Regions from separate parts of the Homo sapiens genome. Here region 1 is linked to region 2. The links are contacts of gene promoters, found by promoter capture Hi-C in human tissues and cell types (Jung and others, 2019). All regions are on one chromosome and are shown on one strand. Each heading gives the region's core, a stretch centred on a gene start or on the middle of the fragment in contact. The rest is flanking DNA. Distances are from core to core; before and after follow the strand shown. Region 1 has its middle 17 kb from the start of MLLT3. Region 2 holds the start of CDKN2B (cyclin dependent kinase inhibitor 2B).

Region 1 (5,441 bases), core at 2,885-5,384, 1.4 Mb before region 2:
GGGTGACCACTGTCCTTGTTTTAGTACTGACAAGTCCTGCATCCTTATAGAACTCCTCAGTCCCAGCACAACCAGCATGGTTGGTCATCCTAAAATTCAAACCCTGGCAATCTAATTCCATACTCCAGGCTATTAACATGTTTTCTCTCTTATAACAGTGCAGGGATAACTCTAGTAAATATAGAAACACCATGTGTAGAAATGGACCAAACAAAAGCAACCCTGAAATCTGGGCCTGCTACAAGATGCTCTACTTATAGACGCTACAAGTAGAAATTCACCTTCAACTCACCTAGTCTCCCAATAAACACTCTGGAATGTACTAGGGTTGATTTGCATCAGTTGCTTGCAGCTGGAGAGCTGCAAGGCAATTGCAGAATCTTCAGAAAGGCAGAGGGAGGAGCAGGGGGATTGGAAATCCTCTGATAAAATGGCTTAGAAGATGACTCACTCTTCCTAAGTAGGACCCAGTGGCGAACTTGAAAAGTCTGTAAATCCAACTGGGAGTACTTTATGTTGTTTTCTGCTTTGTCTGACTGTTTCTGTACATTTATATATTCATGGCTATTAAATAAACTTCCGTTGTCTGTGTCTTTTGGCCTTTTCCTTTCAATCACAGTAACAGCCTTGTTGTGACAGCACCACACTAAGAAGACTCTGTCAAGGCAGGGAGCCCAGAGGACAGAGAAAATGGCTGGGTTGTCCCATGGGCAGATGTGAAAAATACCCTAAAACCTCCTTCATGTGGTGAAGGATGCAAGTAAAAGATAGGAAATATATCAGCAGGGCCTTTGAGTCTAAGCTTATGCAATCACCTCTCAAATCACTTGCTTTTCTCTTCCACCTTGGCATTCCAGGAGGAGCATCACTACTCTCCACCTGTCTTCTTCTTTGGCCAATAGTAGGTAAAAAAAGAGCCAACAACAGAGTAGGATTCCTCTCCCCCCAATTCATATCTCGCTTCTCCTATAAAAAGACATAGAGAGAGGAAGAAACAATAAATACTATTTAAATAAATGATTGTGCTTGGTTTCTTCCACCTAGATTTTGTGTAGAACTACTTGCTGTGAGAAAGTAAAAAAAAAAAAAAAAAAAAAAAAAGCCTAATTGAGATTTGCATATTCAAATACAAGACAAGGAAAATGCACCCAATCTGAGATGGGAGCTTAGAGAAAGAATAACTGAGGCATTAACACTTGAGATGATACTGGAGGGTAAGAGTTTATCACAAGGATGAGGAGAGGGTGTCACAAGGATGAGAATGAAATTGGGAGCAAACATTTAACAGATATTCTTCCTTCAGCCTGGAAAGACACTAGGAAGGGTGGGGGTGGGGGGGCACTGAGAAAGGAGAAGGTATGGCAAGCTCAGTAGCTATACTTATTCTAAGGTCTGACTGAAGGAAAGTGTTGGGAGATGAGGAATCTCCTCAGAAAGGGTATTCTGTTCATGCTCAACAGATTAAGAGTTTTCTATGCCTGACAAGAAACCACTGAAAAAATTTGAGCAGAGGTATGATATAATCAGATCACAGTATGAGAATATTTGTCACAGTCCTCAGGAACGTGCCATGCAAAGCCATGGTTACTGGCAAACTAGTTATTAAATGGACCAGAAAAAGAAAAACAAAACATTGAAGAGCTCTTCAAAAGGGAATATGAAACCAATGAAAACGATGAAAATATTTAAATATATGAAACAACATAAGTCAAAAAATGTTAAGGCTGGGTGCAGTGGCTAATGTCTATAATCTCAGCAGTTTGGGAGGCTGAGGTGGAAAGATTGCTTGAGGCCAGAAATTAGAGACCGCCCTGGGAAACACAGAGAAACCCCGTCTCTACAAGGAATTTTTTTTCTTTTAATTAGCTGGGCATGGTGGTGTGCACGTGTAGTCCCAGGTACTCGGGAAGCTGAAGTGGGAGGATTGCTTGAGTCCAGGAGTTTGAGGTTACAGTGGGCTATGATAGTGCCACTGCACTCCAGCCTGGGTAACTGAATGAGACCTTGTCTCTAAAACTAAAAAGCAATAAATAAATAATAAATAAATCAATAAATAAATAAAAAGAGAAAATAAAGATTTTAAACTATGTAAGCTAAAAATGTACTTAAGGATGAAGAAGAGATAGTTCACAGAATGAACAAATTCTTGACCTCAATACTGATCCAGTAAGGATCAGGGAGCATGCATTTTCCAAACTGTCTCCAACAATAGCAAATAATGGTCAATGGCTGGATATTCTAAACCAATGTAAAGTAATGTATAGAAAAGTCATAAGGACTGGCTTTTGGTCTCTGATTGCCTCACTAAATAGCACTTTATTTTGTTTTTTATTTTAAAAAGTAGAATGAGATTTGTTTTAATCCTTAGCATATATGTTTATTGGGCTTTCTGCAGGTTATTGACTTTTTTTTAGAGACAATCTCACTCTATCCCCCAGGCTGGAATGCAGTGCTGTGATCATGGCTCACTGCAGCCTTGAACTCCTGGGCTCAAGTGATCCTCCCACCTCAGCCTCCCAAATAGCTGCCACTGCAGGTGCATGCCACCACACTCAGCTAATTTTTTAAAAAGATTTTTGTAGAGATAGGGTCTTACTATGTTGCCCAGCCTGATAGGTTTTTATTTATTTATTTACTTATTTATTGTCATAGGGTCTCACTATGTCACCCAGGCTGATGTACAGTGACATAATCATGGCTCACTGCAGCGTCAACCTCCTGGGCTCAAGTGATCCTCCCAACTCAGCCTCCTGAGTAGCTGGGACTACAGCCATGCACCACCACACCTGACAAATTTTTGTATTTTTTGTAAAGACAGGGTTTTGCCACGTTGCCCAGGCTGGTCCCAAACTCCTGAGCTCAAGCGATCTACCTGTCCCAGCCTCCCAAAGTGCTGAGATTACAGGTGTGAGCCACAGCTCCCAGCTCCAGGCTGGCAGGTTATTGACTTAAAATTTCAATTTTTACATTCTTTCCTAATGTTTCATCACAGTTTATTTTCTAAAACTGATATTCTATATATGGTTTTATTTAGTTTAATACTTGTTCATTGAGAAATATTTCTTGAATGCCTATTTTTTTTTCCTTAGGCCCTAAGGAACCAATAATTAATAAAGACAGATGGACAAATCTGGCTGCTGTCTTTATGGAGTTTACAGTCTAGTGGAAAGCAAACAATTATAATGTTATATGTGTAAAGAACATGACAGAAACTCAGCTTGCCTACCCAATATTTATTCGCCACATCTTTCTTGTGAAGAGAATCCCAGCTTAGTTAGGGGTAAGCAACATGCCCAATTGTAGCAGATTGTATTTCCCCAAAATGGCCACAGTAATATTTTGTTTTTTGTTTTTTTTGTTTTTGAGATGGAATCTCAGTCTTGTCGCTCAGGCTGGGGTGCAGTGGCACGATCTCGGCTCACTGCAACCTCCGCCTCCCAGGTTCAAGCTATTCTCCCGCCTCAGCCTCCTGAAGTAGTTGGGATTACAGGCATGCGCCACTACATCTGGCTAATTTTTGTATTTTTTCAGTAGAGACGGGGTTTCACCATGTTGGCCAGGCTGGTCTCAAATTCCTGACCTCAAATGATCCACCTGCCTCGGCCTCCCAAAGAGCTGGGATTATAGGCGTGAGCCACTGGGCCCAGCCCACAGCAATATTTTGGTCCACTTGCTCTTCCATACCTCGCCACCCCCAGATCAAGTTGTAAAATCGACTTCTCTTCCCCTTTAACCAGGCAGACCTTTGTATTTTCCACAATGAATAGAATACAGCACAAGTGATAATGTGTGACTTCCAGGTCATAAAAGGCGATATGGTTTCTACCTCAGTCTCTCTTGGGACCCTCACCCTTGGGACTCAGCTATCGTGGTGTGGGAATCCAAGAACCCACATGAAAAGCTCATGTGTAGGTGTTCTAACCACAGTTCCAACTGTGTGAGTCTTCTTGGCCGGCAGCCAGCAACAATTGCCTCTAGGCTGATGCCAAGTGAAGCAGAGACAAGCTGTCTCTGCTAAGCTTTGCCCAAATGGCCTATTTGTGAGAAAAACACATTTTCATTCTAAGCCATTAACTTTTGAGTTGGTTTGTTTCACAGTAATAGAAACCTGGAAGATCTGCTTAAAAAATTGCTTTACCCAGCCTTCCTGGCAGATTGGTTAGGCATGTGACATAATTTTGACCAATGAGATAGAAAGAGAAGCCCATGGGTGAGGCTTCTGAGAAAGACTCAGCAGATACATGACTGTAAGATCTGGACCCTTTGTTCCTCCTTCTGCCTACGGCGCAGTGACAGCTAGAGCTCCAGCACCATTTTGTAAGAATGAGAACAAGAGCCACACTTTAAAGATTCCAGGACAGACATGTAGAAAAGGTGCTCAGCATTTTTAATCATTAGGGAAATGCAAGTGAAAACTGCAATGAGAAATCATTTCACACTTCTAAAAGGACAAACATTAAAAAGATTGACACACTAGATTTTGATGTGGATGTGGAACAAGTAGAATTTGCATACATTTCTAGTTGGAGTATAAAATAATACCAATCTTTGATAAACTGTTTAACAGTTTCTAATAAAGATAAAAATATACCTATTCTATGATCCATCTGGATTCAACTTCTAGGTGTTTATGAAACATAAAGACATATCTTCACAAAAAGACTTACGTAAGAATGTTCATAGTAGATTTATTTGTTATAGGCCAAAATAGGGAATAGTCCGTATGTCCACCAATATGAAAATTGGTAAAATGGATAAATTGTGCCACATATACTACATTGGAATACTGTTCAGTAATAAAATAAGAATGAACTACTCATATATGCAACAACATAAATGAATCTGAAAAACGTTATGTTGAGCAAAAGAAGCAAAATACATGAATATACATATACTATCTGATTCTACTTACATGGCATTCCAACACATGCGAAACCAATGAATTGTGGTAGAAATTAGAACAGTAACTGCATTTTAGAGGAATTGACCAAAAAGGCACAAAGGAATTATTTGGGGTGCTGGAAAAGTTCTACTTTGGAAACCAGTTGGGATATTGGTTACCCAGAGGTATACAGTCATCAGAATTCATCAGACTACTCACTAAGTTATGTATACTTTACTAGATGTATATTATAAAACATTAGTTCACTAAAAATAAATATGGTCATACTTTTCAATGGCTTATTTACTAGTGAGATCCACTGAAAGGAGCTATGACTTAAATATTATTGATTTGCTGTGATAGCTAACTTACAGCAGCAATGTTTAAACTAATACTAGGAATGAAAATATTTTGGTGACCAGGTCTCACCTACAAGTAAAATACTATCTCCAATTCGTTTACCCAAAACAAATATATTCTATGTTCTACATCAAAACATGTTCAACATGTTTTATTTCTCCTTTTCCCAAGCTAAGATAACCATAACAAGGTTATTTAG
Region 2 (5,948 bases), core at 2,887-5,386:
CAATTGCTCTCACTCCACTCCACCACCTCATCCTGTGTAGTCTGCCTGCGGAACCCGCGGGAATCTCTCCTCAGTGTAGTAAGAGCAAAGGCCAGCATCCTGTGCAAAGGTGCTCTGCAGCGTCGTGATCCAGGGATTTTAGCATCTGTCGTCGCTTGCACATCCTCTCTTACCCCTCTGCTATCTGGTGGAGTTGGGCGAGGGTCTCCAGGGCTTCCAGAGAGTGTCGTTTACGCATGTGACTTGCCATGCGCTCAAACTAAAGCGCCGCCGGGGACTTACTGAAGCCCACCTCGGCCCTCCTCCACTTTGTCCTCAGTCTTCAGGTTTTCCTTTCTGCCGCTAGGGCCTAAGTTGTGGGTTCACCATAACTCCTCAGCAGACATTGGAGTGAACGCATCGACTGCCGTCACCCAAGTGCTAATCACTGCCTTCTCCCACTCAGCGCTGGAGTGGGAGATTCATCCATCGGAAGATTCGTAGCCACCAGGTCCAGTCAAGGATTTCATATGCACTTTCCCTCAGAAAACCCTGAAAAGCAAACGACCCCTGGAATGTCACACACTCCTAAATATCCCTGGAAATCCGCTTCTCTGTGTTTCGCTTCATGGTGAGTGTCGAGGGCCAGATAAGACAAAGAAAAAAATGTATGGAAGGTTATTCCCGGTCGGCTCCTCCTTCCTGTGAGTCTCAGACAGGCTTGCAGGCTTACAGGCTTTCCGCCGCTCCCCGTTGGCAGCCTTCATCGAATTAGGTGGGTGGGGGTGGGAAATTGGGTAAGAAAATAAAGTCGTTGTGGGCGGCTGGGGAACCTGGCGTCAGTCCCCCGTGGCTGTGCGCAGGTACCCTGCAACGTCGCGGTGGCCCCGCTCCTCGGCCAAGTCCACGGGCAGACGACCCCAGGCATCGCGCACGTCCAGCCGCGCCCCGGCCCGGTGCAGCACCACCAGCGTGTCCAGGAAGCCCTCCCGGGCAGCATCATGCACCGGTCGGGTGAGAGTGGCAGGGTCTGCGCAGTTGGGCTCCGCGCCGTGGAGCAGCAGCAGCTCCGCCACGCGGGCGCTGCCCATCATCATGACCTGCCAGAGAGAGCAGAGTGGTCAGAGCCAGGGTGGGGGCAGGTATGGGAGATGCCGGCCGGGGCAAGGCAGGTGGAGCCATTTAAAGAAACACCTAATTGCAAAGTTTTCACCCAGTGCAGAGGTGTTCAGGTCTCTGATGTCTGGTGTTTCTTCATTTGCTGATGCAATCCACTTTCCCACCCCACCTTCAGGTTATACTCAGTACAAATTAAATGCCATTTTATTCTCTAAACGTGCAGAGACAAGAAAGTTGATGGTAAAGTGATGATCATCATTATGGAAAAACAAATCTTGATTTCCATTGGAACATGGGAATCTATTTTGTTAAATGATTTAGGGGCAGAGTTAAATTTATTCGGCTTTTAAAGTTTTAAATTATTTGCCTTGCTGACCCCTCCTCCATAATCCAGGTCTACAAATATTTATTAGGTAGTCAACTACTGTTTGTTAGAAGTTGGGAGTAATGGTTTAGGGGAGAAAATAAACAACTAAGTTTTTTTCTTTCTTTTTTTTTTAATTTATTTAGTTCTCATAGCAAATCCCGTGCGGAAGGCTTTTGTTTGTCATGTGTCTGAGCTCATAACTGGCTTGTAGTGTGATAATTTGAGCCAAAGTTGGAGATTAGAAGGGAAAAGTAAATTAAATCATGCAAAATCTTATAAAATTATAATAAATGATTTTTCCTTAACAGTTCATCATTTTAAATTTAGACTATAATATTTTTAATGTAATATAAAACTAACTATATTTGTATACTACAGGATTTTATAATAGCTAAGATTTAAAAATGTTAAACAGTAAATATTTTGCTATATAAAAAGAGCTTGGGCCAGGCCCAGTGGCTTATGCCTGTAATCCCAGCACTTTGGGAGGCCATAGCAGGCAGATCACCTGAGGTCAGGAGTTCGAGACCAGCCTGGCCAACATGGTGAAATCCCGTCTCTACTACAAAAAATAAAAAATTAGCTGGGCATGGTGGGGCGTGCCTGTAGTCCCAGCAACTCAGGAGGCTGAGGCAGGAGAATCGCTTGCATCCTGGAAGAGGTTGCAGTGAGCTGAGATTGTGCCACTGCACTCCAGCCTGTCCGACAGAGTGAGGCCTCATCTCAAAAAAAATAAAATAAATAAATAAATAAATAGAGCTTGGATGTTAGCAGTCAATCAGGATGATGCATAACTTAGAAAAAATGATGTTTTGCAGGAGTAATCCTGTAGCAGCCATTTGTGTACATGAACATTATGAAAACATTTGCTGTCATATTTAAAGTCAATTATAAGACAATTTTTGGTAACTAAATGTCTAAAATCGAGTTATTTGTTATGGGTTTATGCACTTTAAAATATACCATTTAATTGAAAGGCAGTATACTTCTCATGTTTTGTTGGCTTGTTTCATTAATATTAGAAATGTTCATTTCATCTCTTAAAAACCGTGATAAGTTATATCTACTAGTGATGTAAGGATATTTTACATAGAAAAAAAGGGGAAAATAGCTGCTGTTAGTATTTCAGAAAATGGTGAATTACATATATAACTTGTTTTTATAATTATTAATAAAATTTTAAGTTTTTAAGATGCACTTTACAATATTTTTGCTCCTTTAAAAATCCCTCATTTGTTATACCATTATTCTAAGAATTCAAAAGAAATGAACACTTCTTTAAAATCTATACTATTAACAAGATCCCTTAATATTAGCTTAGTTTTAGAGGGTGATAGTGAGGTGAGTACTGAATATGACCACTAGCCAACGGTAAAGTACAAAAGAGTTGTCCGAGATTGTAAAAGAAATAAAAAATATCAGTACTAATTAAAGCAGGATTCGTACTTAAACATTGAATAAGTGTATTTTAACAATGAAGATAAAGATGCATTATTTATGAAGATCCTTTGCCATTCAAAAAGGACCTAACAGTTGCTGCAGGAATATTTTTGTAATCTGGGCACTGAGTATGATAATTAAAGAATGAGAAACCTATAGAACTATATATTTTTTCTCTTATGCATCACTCATAAGACACTGCTAACATAAAAGGAACTAAGTACTGTGGTTGAGGAATCCCGTCTCATTCTCAATTAACCTCTATGAGAAAACAATACAACAGATTTCATATAGTAGCTTAGAAGTTTACATTGATTTTTTCCATGTACTATGATTTTGTAGAATTCCTTAAATCCAATCTAGAATGCGTAACTTATACTTTACTTATCTTTATCGTTGAAAGCAGACAGACAAGATAATCTTCTTCCCTAAATAAGCTTTCCTTTTCTCCTTTTCTCCCCAATTCAGTCTATTCCTTGCATCTCTGATCATGAGATGGCAGAACAAAAACCACTAAAAAAAGCTTAAACAGTGGGTTTTTCAATGTCTCTCTTTAGGATTTTTGCTGGGTAAAAGCCTGTTTTACGCGTGGAATGCACACCTCCGGCCAACGGAGACTCCTGTACAAATCTACATCGGCGATCTAGGTTCCAGCCCCGATCCGCCGAGGCCGCGCCCCGCGTTCGCGCGCCCCCTGCCGGCGAGGCCCTGGGGCCCCAGCTACCTGGATCGCGCGCCTCCCGAAACGGTTGACTCCGTTGGGATCCGCGCCGGCTTCCAGGAGCTGTCGCACCTTCTCCACTAGTCCCCGCGCCGCGGCGCTGGCCAGACCCTCATCGCTGCCGCCCCCACTGGGCATGCCCTTGTTCTCCTCGCGCATTCCGCAGCCCCCAGACGCGCAGCGGCCCGGATAATCCACCGTTGGCCGTAAACTTAACGACACTCTTCCCTTCTTTCCCACGCTGCTCCGGCGCACTCTCTCCTTCCTAGGAGACCTGGGCTCAGCTTCATTACCCTCCCGTCGTCCTTCTGCGGCTTGGGGCCCCGTGCAGTGGCCGAGCGGCCGGTCGTTAGCTCCGGGCTTTTCCTGGCGCTCAAGAACCAGCGGGCGCGCCTGGATTGCTTCTGGGAAAAAGCGCCTAGCGCGGACGCAGCCGAGCTCAAAGCCGCTCTGGCCGCAGGGTGCGGACGCGTCGCGGAGTCCTCACTGCCCCGCCTCGCTCTGGCAGAGTGGGGAGCCAGCCGGCAAAGAATTCCGTTTTCAGCTGGGCCAAGGGGCCGGCGTCTCCCCACCCCCTTAGGCTCCGCCCCCTGTCCGCTGTGATCGCCGGGAGGCCAGGCCCGGGCCGACGCGTCACGAGGGCGGGGAAGCCTGCCCAAAGATGCTAGGACGCATGCGCCAGAGACTGGGCCAGGGAGCCGCCAGGAATGCTGGCTGCACTGCTCGCTGGATGTCCAGTAAAGCCAAGGCTAATATTTTGGGAATGTTCACCACTGCCCTCAGCTCCTAATCCCCAGTAGGCGGAGCAGAGGATTTCTGTTCCTTCAGCCAGCCAGTTGGTTTCACTGTGGAGACGTTGGTGGCTCCCTTGTGACCGAGAGAAAGTCATTCAAAATAACTCCGTGTTTCTTAAGATGTCTGAAAGCGACAGCTCTGCACCTGTCATACAAGTTAAATTCATCCCCAGGCAGTACTTGGGCTTCACAAGTTTCATAACTTGTATCAAACTTAGCAATTTTCTCTTGGATGTGTCTTTCTGTTTGAATTAGTCAACCATAAAAATAGAGAAAAATCCCGAGAATCATGTTTTGCGTGTGCTTTTTAATTCTTTCCATTTTTGCATTATGGATACAACCCTTAAAAGAGAAAAAAACTAGTTCGAGATTGAGAGTGGCAACCTGGCACACATAAGACAAAAAAAAATTATACTTTAAGAATCTGAGATCCCAGTTTCATCATATTTGTACAGTAAATCTTTGTTTGCACTCTTACCTATTTAAACCCACTTTGTCAGGTATCTTATTTTTATTTATCATGAGTAATAAAGGAAATTTATGCAGTAATAATGAAACATCATAAGAGAGGGGTGTGGTGCTGGGCTTGTCATTAAACAGGCTGAACCTGTCATTAAATTCTCTTCTGAAGATTTAAATGCCAAGTGCTTTTTTTCCCCTTCCTAATCTTCCTAGGTGAGTTTGAATCAACATTTATTACTTAAAATATTTAAAACATTTCAGCGGATGCTACATTGGATAGGAAGAGAACCGCAAGTTATGGATTTGTTGCCTAAAAACTTTGGTGAGGAACTGCATAAGTGGACCTCTCCTAAAAGTGAACAATTTTTGTTTACAGAATCATTTTGGTTCGGAGTGCTGAGGAAGACAAAGTCTTAACAGGAGGGCAATTGCTTGTGTATTGCAAAATGAGAGTCTTCACATGTTTTTTTTAGGATACCTTAGCTCTGACTCCTCATCCCCCAAATCCCTGTAGAATTAAAAAAAGCTCTTTCTTTTAAAGGCAGTGGAAGTGCCACCACCATGGAAGTGCTGGTTAGGGCTGAAAATCTACTGACAGAGCCTCAACAGAGCTGAAATCCACCTGGACAGGGAAGGGAACCGGGTAGCATTAATAACAATTTCTTTTTCTTTCCCATCCAACCCCCATTTCCTAGTCTTCAGTTTCTTAATTTCTCTACCTTTTACTCTTATGCTCTTGTTTTGACCTTTGAGTTTCTCTGAAACTTATCAGAAAAGTTAGGACAAGATAGTCTGACCCAATTCTTGAGCCATTTTCTTAGGTAGTAAATATGTCAGAAAAATGAAAGCTGTTTGGAGTTGATAAGGAAATGGAAGATAATGTTTTTCTTTGAGGGGGACATAAAGAATGGTGATAGGGAAAGAACCAATGACTAAGTAAAATGACTGAGAATCTTGCACGAGGCAGATGTGTGAGCTTCGCGAAGCAAGTTGACTGAATGAAAAACAACTTTGGGTAGGGAAAACGTTGCCGGGGGCATTCGCGCTTACTAGCACCACGGACAGC

The links. Contacts are between HindIII fragments. The study calls those that stand out against the background at their distance.
Region 1: a fragment that was not itself captured here is called in contact with the fragment with the promoter of CDKN2B in region 2 in 1 of the 25 tissues and cell types used here (lymphoblastoid cells).

Annotation. Positions count from the first base shown.
Region 1 is chr9:20,636,685-20,642,125 of GRCh38, forward strand. No RefSeq gene overlaps it. Among named protein-coding and RNA genes, the nearest start is that of MLLT3, 17 kb to the left of the region's middle. The HindIII fragment of the contact is 3,449 bases long and covers 2,411-5,441 here.
Region 2 is chr9:22,005,169-22,011,116 of GRCh38, forward strand. It overlaps CDKN2B (cyclin dependent kinase inhibitor 2B), which reads right to left and starts at 4,137. Exons shown (of 2, transcript NM_004936.4): 1 at 3,630-4,137; 2 at 1-1,079. The coding sequence starts at 3,785. The coding sequence ends at 819. All of the region lies in intron 1 of CDKN2B-AS1 (CDKN2B and CDKN2A antisense cis and trans regulatory RNA 1), which reads left to right. RefSeq lists silencers at 3,479-3,678, 5,802-5,948. The HindIII fragment of the contact is 12,658 bases long and covers 1-5,948 here.